3 separate regions of the Homo sapiens genome follow, and regions 1 and 3 are each linked to region 2. The links are contacts of gene promoters, found by promoter capture Hi-C in human tissues and cell types (Jung and others, 2019). All regions are on one chromosome and are shown on one strand. Each heading gives the region's core, a stretch centred on a gene start or on the middle of the fragment in contact. The rest is flanking DNA. Distances are from core to core; before and after follow the strand shown. Region 1 overlaps CDH1 (cadherin 1). Region 2 holds the start of VPS4A (vacuolar protein sorting 4 homolog A). Region 3 overlaps ZFP90 (ZFP90 zinc finger protein).

Evidence for each region. The method cuts DNA at HindIII sites, captures the fragments that hold promoters and counts their contacts. A contact is called where the count stands out against the background at its distance.
Region 1: a contact is called between a fragment that was not itself captured here and the fragment with the promoter of VPS4A in region 2, in 1 of the 25 tissues and cell types used here (hippocampus).
Region 3: a contact is called between a fragment that was not itself captured here and the fragment with the promoter of VPS4A in region 2, in 1 of the 25 tissues and cell types used here (dorsolateral prefrontal cortex).

Annotation. Positions count from the first base shown.
Region 1 is chr16:68,794,854-68,798,676 of GRCh38, reverse strand. All of the region lies in intron 2 of CDH1 (cadherin 1), which reads right to left. Among named protein-coding and RNA genes, the nearest start is that of TANGO6, 47 kb to the left of the region's middle. RefSeq lists enhancers at 2,471-2,971, 2,972-3,472. The HindIII fragment of the contact is 4,503 bases long and covers 1-3,823 here.
Region 2 is chr16:69,309,546-69,313,257 of GRCh38, reverse strand. It overlaps VPS4A (vacuolar protein sorting 4 homolog A), which reads right to left and starts at 1,908. Exons shown (of 11, transcript NM_013245.3): 1 at 1,726-1,908. The coding sequence starts at 1,746. RefSeq lists silencers at 1,444-1,993, 2,054-2,193 and enhancers at 1,136-2,085, 2,086-3,036. The HindIII fragment of the contact is 10,929 bases long and covers 1-3,712 here.
Region 3 is chr16:68,552,852-68,556,454 of GRCh38, reverse strand. The region is part of intron 2 of ZFP90 (ZFP90 zinc finger protein); the gene reads right to left. Among named protein-coding and RNA genes, the nearest start is that of ZFP90, 15 kb to the right of the region's middle. The HindIII fragment of the contact is 9,782 bases long and covers 1-3,603 here.

The sequences.
Region 1 (3,823 bases), core at 465-2,964, 510 kb after region 2:
AGACAGTGAAAGTTGAGACAAGCATGATTGGACTTGCCAAGGGTGGCGGCCTGAAAAAATGAAAATGGTTTTGCAAATAACTTGATCCAAGGCACTTAACCTGCTTTGGGGCACCTCATCTTAATGGTGGTTAAGCCCTACCCTTTGAGAAGTGACAGTATGACGAGGAGCCCCAACCTGAATTCCAGGTGCTCATAAGACTCATTATCTCCCCATGCAACCTGATCCCCTGGGCTGATTATAGGAAATTGTAGGAAAGATTGAAAGGTTCTTCAGCTCCAGAAAGGCTCTGGGAAGCTCACTGTCACGCTGGCAAGGGCTGGGTTGTCTCTGAGCCCAGCAAGTGGGAGGAAAGAAGAATGGCAAAATGTTGAAACTGGAGGATCAGAATACGGGGACTGGGTATATTTCAACATGCCCATAAAAAAAGCTAACAAAAATAAAGCTAACAAGGGTCTAAGTGTTCTTTAACCCAGTATGCCCACCTTTCATAAACTTATTTGGTGACTTGGTGTAAAAACCAAATCCCAACAAAAGAAGCTAAGACCCCACTCCCCACTACTGGCCATCTCCATGTGGGAAAGTCTTTTTTTTTTTTGAGACAGAGTGTCACTCTGTCACCCAGGCTGGAGTGCAATGGTGCAATCTGGGCTCACTGCAACCTCTGCCTCCCAGATTCAAGCAATTCTCCTGCTTCAGCCTCCCGAGTAGCGGGGATTACAGGTGCACACCACCACGCCCAGCTAATTTTTGTATTTTTAGTAGAGACAAGGTTTCACCATGTTGGCCAGGCTGGTCTCGAACTCCTGACCTCAAGTGATCTGCCCGCCTCTGCCTCCCAAACTGCTGGGATTATAGGTGTGAGCCACTGTGCCCAGCTGGGAAAGTCTTTTCATTACAATATCATCACCATCATCAAAAACTGCAGCCTCAACTAAGCTTCAATTAGCTTTTATGAACTATTTTATTCAGATTTTATTTAATTTTATTTGTGTGCTTTTTGAGACAGGTCTCTGTCACCTAGGGTGGAATGCAGTGGTGCAAACACTGCTCACTGCAGCCTTGGCTTTCGGGGCTCAAGCAATCCTCCTGCTTCAGCCTCCTGAGTAGCTGGGGCTACAGGTACATGCCACCATGCCTGGCTAATTTTATTTATTGTAGAGATGGGGTCTGACTACGTTGCCCAGGCTGCTCACAAACTCCTGGGCTCAAGCCATCTTCCCGCTTTGGCCTCCCAAAGTGCTGGGATTACAGAAGTGAATGACTGAGCCCAGCCTCATTTTAATTTTTTGAGAAAGGGTTTTACTCTGTCACCCAGGCTAAAGTGCAGTGGCACAAACGCTAGCTCACCGCAGCCTCAGCTTCCTGGGCTCAAACCATCCTCCCACCTCATCCTCCAGAGTAGCTGAGACTACAGGTGTACTCCACCGCAGCAAATTTTTAATTATTGTTTGTAGGGACAGGGTCTCGCTATGATGCCAAGCCTGGTCATGAACTTCTGACCTCAGGTGATCCACCTGCCTCAGCCTCCCAAAGTTCTGGGATTACAGGCATGAGCCATCATGCTTGGCCTATTTTATTAGTATTTTAAACATGTGTAGAATATTAATGTGCCATGCTCTATTTTAAGCATGTGCTGCCACACCCAGCTAATTTTTGTATTTTTTGTATTTCAGCAAAAAATGTAATTTTATGTTTACAGGACTAGATGGGGTTTTGCCACGTTGCCCAGGCTGGTCTTGAACTCCTGGCCTCAAGCGATCCACCAACCTCAGCCTCCCAAAGTGCTGGGATTACAGATACAAGTATTGTGCCTGGCCAGGAGGCAGTTTGAAAACAACAACAACATATTTTCCTTATATATCCTTGTATTACTTGGCCTGTTACAATTAGAATGAATTCTTTTTTTTTTCATGACAAAAACTAGTAAGAATGACTTTTAAAAAGTGTTTTTAATACTCTGTCATCCCTGCATGCTGCTATTAAACCTACGGTGCCCCACTTTCTAGCCTACTGGGCAAAAGTAGCTTTCAAGAGAGGACCCCAAGAGAGATGACTGATGTTCAAATACAAATGAAACCCAAGTTCATGAAAAGCTTTTGGTCCTGGGGCAGGCTCTGAGCATTCAGCAACATTCCTTGCTTGAAATTGCCATCATGCCACACGGAACAGTCCCACTTTGACGATCCCGTTTCTTCTCCCACGCCCGCCTGGTCCCATAACTGGAATGTGAGTGGGTAGAAACAAGACAGTCTCAAAAGCTTCTATATTATTTTCAGACGATGTTGGGATTTAAGGACAGGGCCAGCTATGGAAGGCAGCAAACCATAGTTGAGTTGTTTGGTAACCAGTGGGATAACCTAGTATCTTAGACGTAACTAGTTGGAAGCAGTGTTTTGCCCACCCTGCATACAAAGGGGCACATTATGGATTGCCTCCCTCTCATCAGAACACATTTCCCACAGCGAACACCAAAGAATACTGCATTTAGCAATTCTTTTTTTTTTGTTTTTAAAGACAGAGTCTCGCACTGTCACCCGGGCTGGAGTGCCATGGCAGGATCTCAACTCACTGCAACCTCCACCTCCCGGGTTCAAGCCATTCTCCTGCCCCAGCCTCCCGAGTAGCTGGGATTACAGGTGCCTGCCACCACGCCCGGCTAATCTTTTGTATTTTTAGTAGAGACGGGGTTTCACTATGTTGGCCAGGATAACCTCGAACTCCTGACCTTGTGATCCGCCTGCCTTGGCCGCCCAAAGTGCTGGGATTACAGGCATAAGCCACCGCACCCGGCCTGCATTTAGCTTTATTCAAAGACCATTTGAACTTGAGAGCTCAGCCTCAGTTACACATAAAAACTGGAGGACAAGATCAGAGAACTGGCTGGGCATGGTGGCTCATGCCTGTAATCCCAGCACTTTGGGAGGCCGAGCCAGGTGGATCACCTGAGGTCAGGAGTTCAAGACCAGCCTGGTCAACATGGTGAAACCCCGTCTCTACTGAAAATACAAAAAATTAGCCAGGCATGGTGGCGGGCACCTGTAATCCCAGCTACTCAGAAGGCCAGGACAGGAGAATTGCTCGAACACAGGAGGCAGAGGTTGCAGTGAGCAGAGATTGCACCATTGCGCTCCAGTGTAGGTGACAGAGCAAAAAAGACTCCATCTCAAAAACAAACAAACAAACAAAAAAATCAGAGAACTAGCCAGGCATGGTGGCTCATACCTGTAATCTCACCATTTTGCGAAGCCAAGGCAGGAGGATCACTTGAGCCCAGGAGTTTGAGACTAGCCTGGGCAACATAGTAAGACCCCATCTCTTAAAATAAAAATAAAAAAAAAGAAATCTAACTTGATGGATGAAAGGAATCCTGGGGAGACAGCCTCATTCAGCTAGTTAGGCATTTTTCTTTTTGCTGGTTAGGGACAGTGTTTCTAACTCCATCTCCACAGATACTGCTGCCTATAAGATCTCCTTCCAGGCTATTTTCTTAGATGACACTGGGGATTCTGGCATGTGTTCTTTTAATGAGTATTCATGAAATCAGTAACATTACAGGTTTATTGAGCATTCATACTCAGCAGAAAATGTTAATTTTATGTTTACAAATGCAAGACTAGCCTGAGCAACATAGTGAAACCTCATTTTCTACCAAAAAAAGAAAATCTAAAAAGTTAGCCCGGTTGGCCAGGTGCGGTGGCTCACGCCTGTAATCCCAGCACTATGGGAGGCCGAGACGGGTGGATCACAAGGTCAGGAGATCGAGACCATCCTGGCTAACACGGTGAAACCCCGTCTCTACTAAAAATACAAAAAAAAAAAA
Region 2 (3,712 bases), core at 659-3,158:
ATCCCAGCACTTTGGGCGGCCGAGGTGGGCAGATCACACTTGAAGTCAGGAGTTCGAAACCAGCCTGGCCAACATGGTGAAACCCCGTCTCTACTAAAAATACAAAAAAATATTAGCTGGGTGTGATGGGAGGTGCCTGTAATCCCAGCTACTTGGGAGGCTGAGGCAGGAGAATCACTTGAACCCAGGAGGCGGAGGCCGCAATGAGTTGAGATTGTGCCACTGCACTCCAGCCTGGGTGACAGAATGAGACTGTCTCAAAAAAAAAAATTAATAAAAACAAAAATATATAACGGGTGAGTTATATGGTAAGCACGCAAGTTATACCTTAATAAAGCTGTGTTTAGGCCAGACCCGTGGCTCACACCTGTAATCCCAGCACTCTGGGAGGCCGAAGTGGGCAGATCATCTGAGGTCGGGAGTTCGAGACCAGCCTGGCCAACACGGTGAAACCCGGTCTCTACTAAAAATACAAAAATTAGCCGGGCGTGGTTGCGGGTGCCCGTAATCCCAGCTACTCAGGAGGCTGAGGCAGGAGAATCGCTTGAACCTGAGAGGCAGAGGCTGCAGTGAGCCAAGATCACACCACTGCACTCCAGTCTGGGTGACAGAGTGAGACTCCATCTCAAAAAAATAAATAAATAAAATTTAAAAATAAATAAATACACCTGTGTTTGAAACTGAAAAACATTCTCGGTTCACGGGCCATAAAAAACCTGCCTGGGCAGACGGGATCTGCGGCTTCTGCTGGTGGTACGGTGGGATCTGGCTATGGACTCTTAATTCCTAACCTGGTACCCCAACTCATTCCATGTCTGCTCCTACTTCTGCCCTCCTCCACCTCCAGGTCTCTGAATGCTACTGGAACTCTGATGTCCCTTCTTCCATGAAGTCTTGCCTAACTCTCCCAGGCACTTTGTTGGCTGTCACTTAATGGACACCTACTATGTGCCAGACATACAAGAATGCTTTACCGTAATTATTCAATTTAAAGCTATCATCACAACAACCTAGAGGGCATTACCCCATTTTACAGACCAGGAAACTCGAGACCCGAAGATGAAAAAAAAAAACTAGCCCAAGGTCACTTGCTGGTGAGTGGCAGAGCTGAGATTCAAACCCCGGAATGAGGCCTGAGCATGTTGATCTCTTCTGGCCCCGCAGGACTGACAGCACCTAGAGGGTGGGTCAGTTGTTCACCCAGGTGGCGCCATCCCAGCACCACCCTGCAGGATCTAGGGAATGAATGAAGGGTCGCTGGCCGAGAAGAGGAAGTCGAAGATTGGGGAAGGGGCCGGGGCTTGTTCGAAGTGAGGTCGAGGGACTTCCAGGACCCGGGACAGGAGAGGAGGGAGCGAGACAGGAGAGGAGGGAGCGAGCATCGCTGTCTGAACGCCCAGCCGGACCCCGGGCCGAGCTTCCTGAGGGTGCCTGTGCGGCTCGGGTGAGGCTGATCCCCACGGCGGTACCGGGGCGCCGGCTACACGAAGCGGCCCTGGGGCTGGGCCAGCCGGGCAGGGCCGGAAGGCCTGAGGGTGGAGATGCCACCCGGCTCCGAGCGCGTGGAAACAGACACGGGCGGAAGCGGCGAGGGGGCGGCCGGAGCGGGGTCGCGAGGCCGGGGCTGGGAGGCGCCCACCTGACCACCCGCCCGCCGCCCGGCTCTGCGGCCCGCAGGCCCCGCTGCCTTCGGCCTCCGAAGTCGGGCCGGGCCGCACGAAGTACCTGGAGGGTTGACGTTGTCATTTCATCTCCTGGGTCCGCCCCACACCCCGCGGCGCTGCTTGCGGCCTCGGTCCGGCCCCGGGGAGCCGAGGTACTGGGTCCGGCGCGGGAAGCCCGGCGGTGGGCGCTGAGCGCGGTGCGCGGGCAGGGCGGCCGCTCGCAGCGGGAGCCGAGTCCGAGGGCAAGCGAGGAGCGCAGCCCAGAGCGGTCGGGCCCGAGCCGAGCGGCTGCCCCCTAGCGTCCACGGCTCGCACTGCAGGCACCTCTCCCTGCCTCGGCGAAGGCAGGGGGCGGTTCGAGAGGCAGGACTGACTGGGGACGAGGAGGTGGGACTAGGGCGAGACGGACAGGGGGCGGGGACGGGGTGGGTGGGACAAGGCCGGGGCGGGGCCTGGCGGGACGTACATTCTCGGGGCGGGGCCAGGGGCGGAGCGGGGTAGAATCCGGAAATCCTGACCTCGCTTGGAATAACAGCGCCCATTGAGCAGTTTTATTCTCACAATAAAACGAACTTATCAGAGCGTTGGTTTCTCCATGTTTAATATCGCACGATCATAATTAGTACCTGCCTTGTCTGGCTTTTGTGGGGAATAAATGAGCTAGCTAATGTAAACAGAGTGTGCCCCACACTGGGGCTCAATCCCTGGTGGGATGCCGCTGACTGTTCAAAGCCAGTTTTGTTTTGCTTGGATTGATTGACTGATTGATTGATACGGAGTCTTGCTCTGTCGCCTAGGCTGGAGTGCAGTGGCATGATCTCGGCTCATTGCGACCTCCGCCTCCCGGGTTCAAGCGATTCTCCTGCTTCAGCCTCCCGAGTAGCTGGGATTACAGGCATGCACACCTACTGTGTGCAGCGTTGTGTGCTAGTTTCTGGGGATACAATGATCAAAGCAGTTCTAGGGCTGGGTGTACTGGCCCACGCCTGTAATTCCAGCACTTTGGGAGGCCAAGGCAGGAGGATTGCTTGAGCCGAGGATCAAGACCAGCTTGGGCAACATAGTAAGACCTCGTCGCTAAATTAAGAAACAAAACAAAACAAACAAACAAAAAAACGCACCAGAGGCAAGTGATCCATTTGTCCACAAGTCTATCCTGTGAGAGAAAAAAAATGGAGGGCAAAAAACATCCAAGTTGAGGCTGGGTATGGGGGCTCATGCCTGTAATCCCAACACTTTGGGAAGCCGAGGCAGGCCGATTGCTTGGGCCGAGGAATTCGAGAACAGCCTCGGCAACAGGTGAACCCCCATCGCTACAAAAAATAAAAAACGTATCTGGGCATGGTGGCGCACACCTGTAGTCCCAGCTACTCCGTAAGCTGAGTTGGGAGAATTGCTGGAGCCTGGGAGGTCGAGGCTGTAGTGAGCCGTGACCAGGCCATTGTACTCCACCCTGGGAAATGAAGCAAGACCCTGCCTCCAAAAAAAAAAAAAAAAAAAAAAAAAAAAAAAAAAAAAAAAAACCAAAAAATTGGCACACCTTAATCTCTCTTCACAAAATGCTAATTAAATACAAAGGAGAGGCCGGGCGCGGTGGCTCACGCCTATAATCCCAGTACTTTGGGAGGCCGAGGCAGGTGGATCACTTGAGGTCAGGAGTTCAAGACCAGCCTGGCCAACATGGTGAAACCCTGTCTCTACTAAAAATACAAAATATTCGCCGGCCATGGTGGTGGGCACCTGTAATCCCAGCTACTTGGGAGGCTGAGACAGGAGAATCGCTTGAACCTGGGAGGCGGAGGTTGCAGTGAGCCAAGACCACGCCATTGCACTCCAGCCTGGGCGACAAGAGCGGAACTCCATCTCTAAATAAATAAATAAATACAAAGGAGAAAACAATGAGGACATTAGCTTGACTACGCGACCGAAGGGAACACCCCTGGTGGTGGGATGCGTGGCCCTCGTGTGTCTCTCCACATGATACCCTGAAGAGAGCATGGCATCGTGGCATCTCTGCCAAGAGTGTGTGACACAGCCTGGTTGTGAGG
Region 3 (3,603 bases), core at 434-2,933, 760 kb after region 2:
TATTCTTTGGGCAAACATGCTAGGATTTCTCCTGGCTCGCTAGCTAAAATTACAACGGCTAGGTCAAAGGTCTTTCACTGCCTCATACCCTACTCTAATCACTTTTTCCTCTACCATCCCATGGACACATGGCTGGCTGGCTGGCTGAGGTGCCCCATGCCTCCCAATTGTCAGCTCTGATGCTAGAGAGCTGATTGTCTAGAATCACTTGGCTTTGTTAAACCATGAGTCACCTGTGACCATGGCCTCCTTGAGCTATGTACTTTTGGTTAGGCTTTTTTTTTGGAGACAGGATCTCACTCTCTCACCCAGCTTGGAGTCCAGTGGCTCAATCATGAATCACTGCAGCCTCAACTGCCTGAGCTCAAGTAATCCTCCCACCTTAGCCTCCAGAGTAGCTGGGACTACAGGCATATGCCACCATATCTAGCTAATTCCTGGTTAGACTTCTGTCTCAGAAAGTATATAATAAAGTATGGCAAAGACAATTAGTGCAAAAAGACATCGAAAGCAGAGCTGAGTTAGCTGGAGCAGTGAGGGAAGGTTTCACAGAGGCTTCAGCTTATTCTGTACCCTTCTCTTGTTTGCTTAGGTATAGCTGAACCGATTCACTCAAATTCCTCAAGAGTATCATTCTGTCCTCCCATTTCCCTTAGCTAATTCCATTTCATACTTCAGGTGCCAGTTAGCAGATCTCCAGTGAAGTCTTCTGATCCCCCACTGGAGAGTCAACCTCCCTATCATGTGCTTTAAACCACTCTGCACACCTACCATTATTCAAACAAACCTACTCATCTATTTAATGCTTGTTTTCCTAGTTAAATGGTACACATTATGAGGGCAGGGATAATACTTTTGGTTGTTTTTGAAATTCTACAACACCATTGTCCAGCAAGTACCTGACTCACACTATATCTCTGTTTCCTGAATGAGTTGAGCCTTAAGGAGATGGATGACATTTGAATATTAAAGAAGGCAGGAGTGGCCCCTTCTACTGAGTGAGGTGCATGACCACATCCACACACCATACTGGCTCCTCTGCCCCATATTTCTGTTCAACACTTGGCTGTGTCCCTGCAGGAACAGGGGAGGGATGAAACTGGGGCCATTTTTCTGATCAAGGTTAGAGATTTGACAGACTAGATATTTACAAGGTGCCTGGATTTACTATATACACTGTGGCAGACTAAAAATGCAAAAGAAAAACACTGCAGTCCTTGAATACGGTTCAGTTTATTTTAAAAGCGTTATTTATTAGAGCACAATATGAGACAATACACAGTAAGGTGAGGTGCTGCAGGCGCTCAAAGCACAAAAGATTGGGAGAGGGAGAGAACACTTCAAGGTAGGCTCTGTACCAGGTCCTAAGAGGTAAGTGCCACCTGCATGGAAGAAGAAAATGTGGGAATCCAATCCAGGGACTGGGAAGCTTGAGAAGGGAGGCTGGTCTTGGGAGAGGCATGGCCAGCAAGGATAAAGGGGTTGGACCAGCCATTTTGAGATAAGTGGTGAGAAGTAAAACCTTCTCCCCACTGCCTACTCTACCCTCTAGACATATTGTCTCTTCGGTTTAGTAATAGTCATTGCCCAACCAGGACTCCTTTGCTTAACTGGTTCCTCATATTTAACATATGGCCTCCTGGTTTATTTTGTTTTATTTTGTTTAATAGAGATGGGGTCTCACTATGTTGCCCAGGCTGGTCTCAAACTCCTGGGCTCAAGTGATCCTCCCACCTCGGCCTCCTAAAGTGCTGAGATTACAAGTGTGAGCCTCTGAGCCTGGCCGGCCTCCTGGTTTCATTCTGCTTTCCCAAAGAGTCTGCACTCAAGGTGAAGAATGTGCTAACCAGCAAGCAAACGTCTGCTCCAAGCCACTCATAACTTCTTGCCTTGACAGGGCAACCACTGGCCTCTGTTCTTTAACTCTTGATCCCAATCCCCTTTTTCTCCCCTGGGCACTATCAGAGTTACTTCAAAACACAAATTTGATCATGTTCACAAACACTTCACTGCAGCCAGGCTGAGTGGCTCATGCCTGTAATCCCAGCACTTTAGGGGGCTGAGGCGGGTGGATCACCTGAGGTCAGGAGTTCAAGACCAGCATGGCCAACGTGGCAAACTCTTTGGGAAAGCGGAATGAAACCGTCTCTACTAAAAATACAAAAATTAGCCAGGCGTGGTGACGGGCGCCTGTAATCCCATCTACTCGGGAGGATGAGGCAGGAGAATCACTTGAACCCGGGAGGTGGAAACTGCAATGAGCCGAGACACCACCACTGCACTCCAGCCGGGGCAACAGAGCGAGACTCCATCTCAAAAAAAAAAAAAACAAAACAAAACACAACCCATAAACCCTTCACTGTCTCCCACTTTTCCCTATTTCTGTCACCCTCACCCTAGTTCGTGTCACCATCTCTTACCTGAACTACTGCTACAACCTCCTAGTTCATCTCTCCTCTCACTCTTGCCCCACCACCCAAGTCCATTTTCCACATTACAACCAGAGAGATCTTGTTAAAATCTGCCAGACTGCTGGGCATGGTGGCTCACACCTGTGATCCTAGCACTTTGGGAGGCTGAGGTGGGAAGATCACTAGAGGCCAGGAGTTCCAGACCAGCCTGGGCAACACAGTGAGACCCCATCTCTAACACAAACAAATTTTTTAAAATTAGCTGGGCATGGTGGCTTGCATCTATGGTCCTAGCTACTTGGAGGGCTGAGGCAGGAGGACTGCTTGAGCCCGGGAGTTCAAGGCTACAGTGAGCCACGATGACACCACTTCATTCTAGCCCGGGTGACAGTGCAAGACCCTGTCTCAAAGAAAAACAAAACAAAACAAAAATCTGCCAGATCAAGTCACCTCTGTTTCAAGGCCTCCAATGGCACCGATTCATTTCAAGTAAAGTCAAAGTCTTTATGGCCGCCTATAGGCACTTCACAATCTGGGTGCCAGCTAGCTCCCTGACTTCACCTCAAGCCTCCTCCCCTGCCTGCAGCTCTCGCCTGCACCCACCCCACCCTCCTTCTGATTCCTGGAAGACACTAAACCTACTTCCTCCCTGGTGCCTGTGTTCCGCCTTTTCCCTTGACTTGAAAGCCTCTTCCTGCATGTACGCCCGTGGCTCCCCACTCACTGGCTTCAGCTCTTTGTTCAAATGTCACCTTATCAGAGCAACCTTCCCTCACCATCCTACACAAAATAGCACCCCATTCTACATTCTCACTGTCTTTTTCACAGCCTTTGCCACCTGACATATCATGTTTACGGTCTATATCCCAAAGCAGAATGTAAACCCCGAGAGCAAGAATACTATTTATTTTCTTTACTGTTGAATCTCCATTGTCTAGAACAGACCTGACATGTAGTAGGTGCTCCACAAATATTTAATACATTTTTCTTTTGAGACAAGGTCTTGCTCTGTTGCCCGGGCTGGAGTGCAGTGGTGCAATCATAGATCACTGCAGCCTTGACCTACCGGGCCTAGGCAATTTTCCCATTTCAACCTCCTAAGCAGCTGGGACCACAGGTGTGTGCCACCATACCTATTTTTTTTACTTTTGTAGAGATAGGGTTTCTCTATGTTGCCCAGGCTGGTCTATGA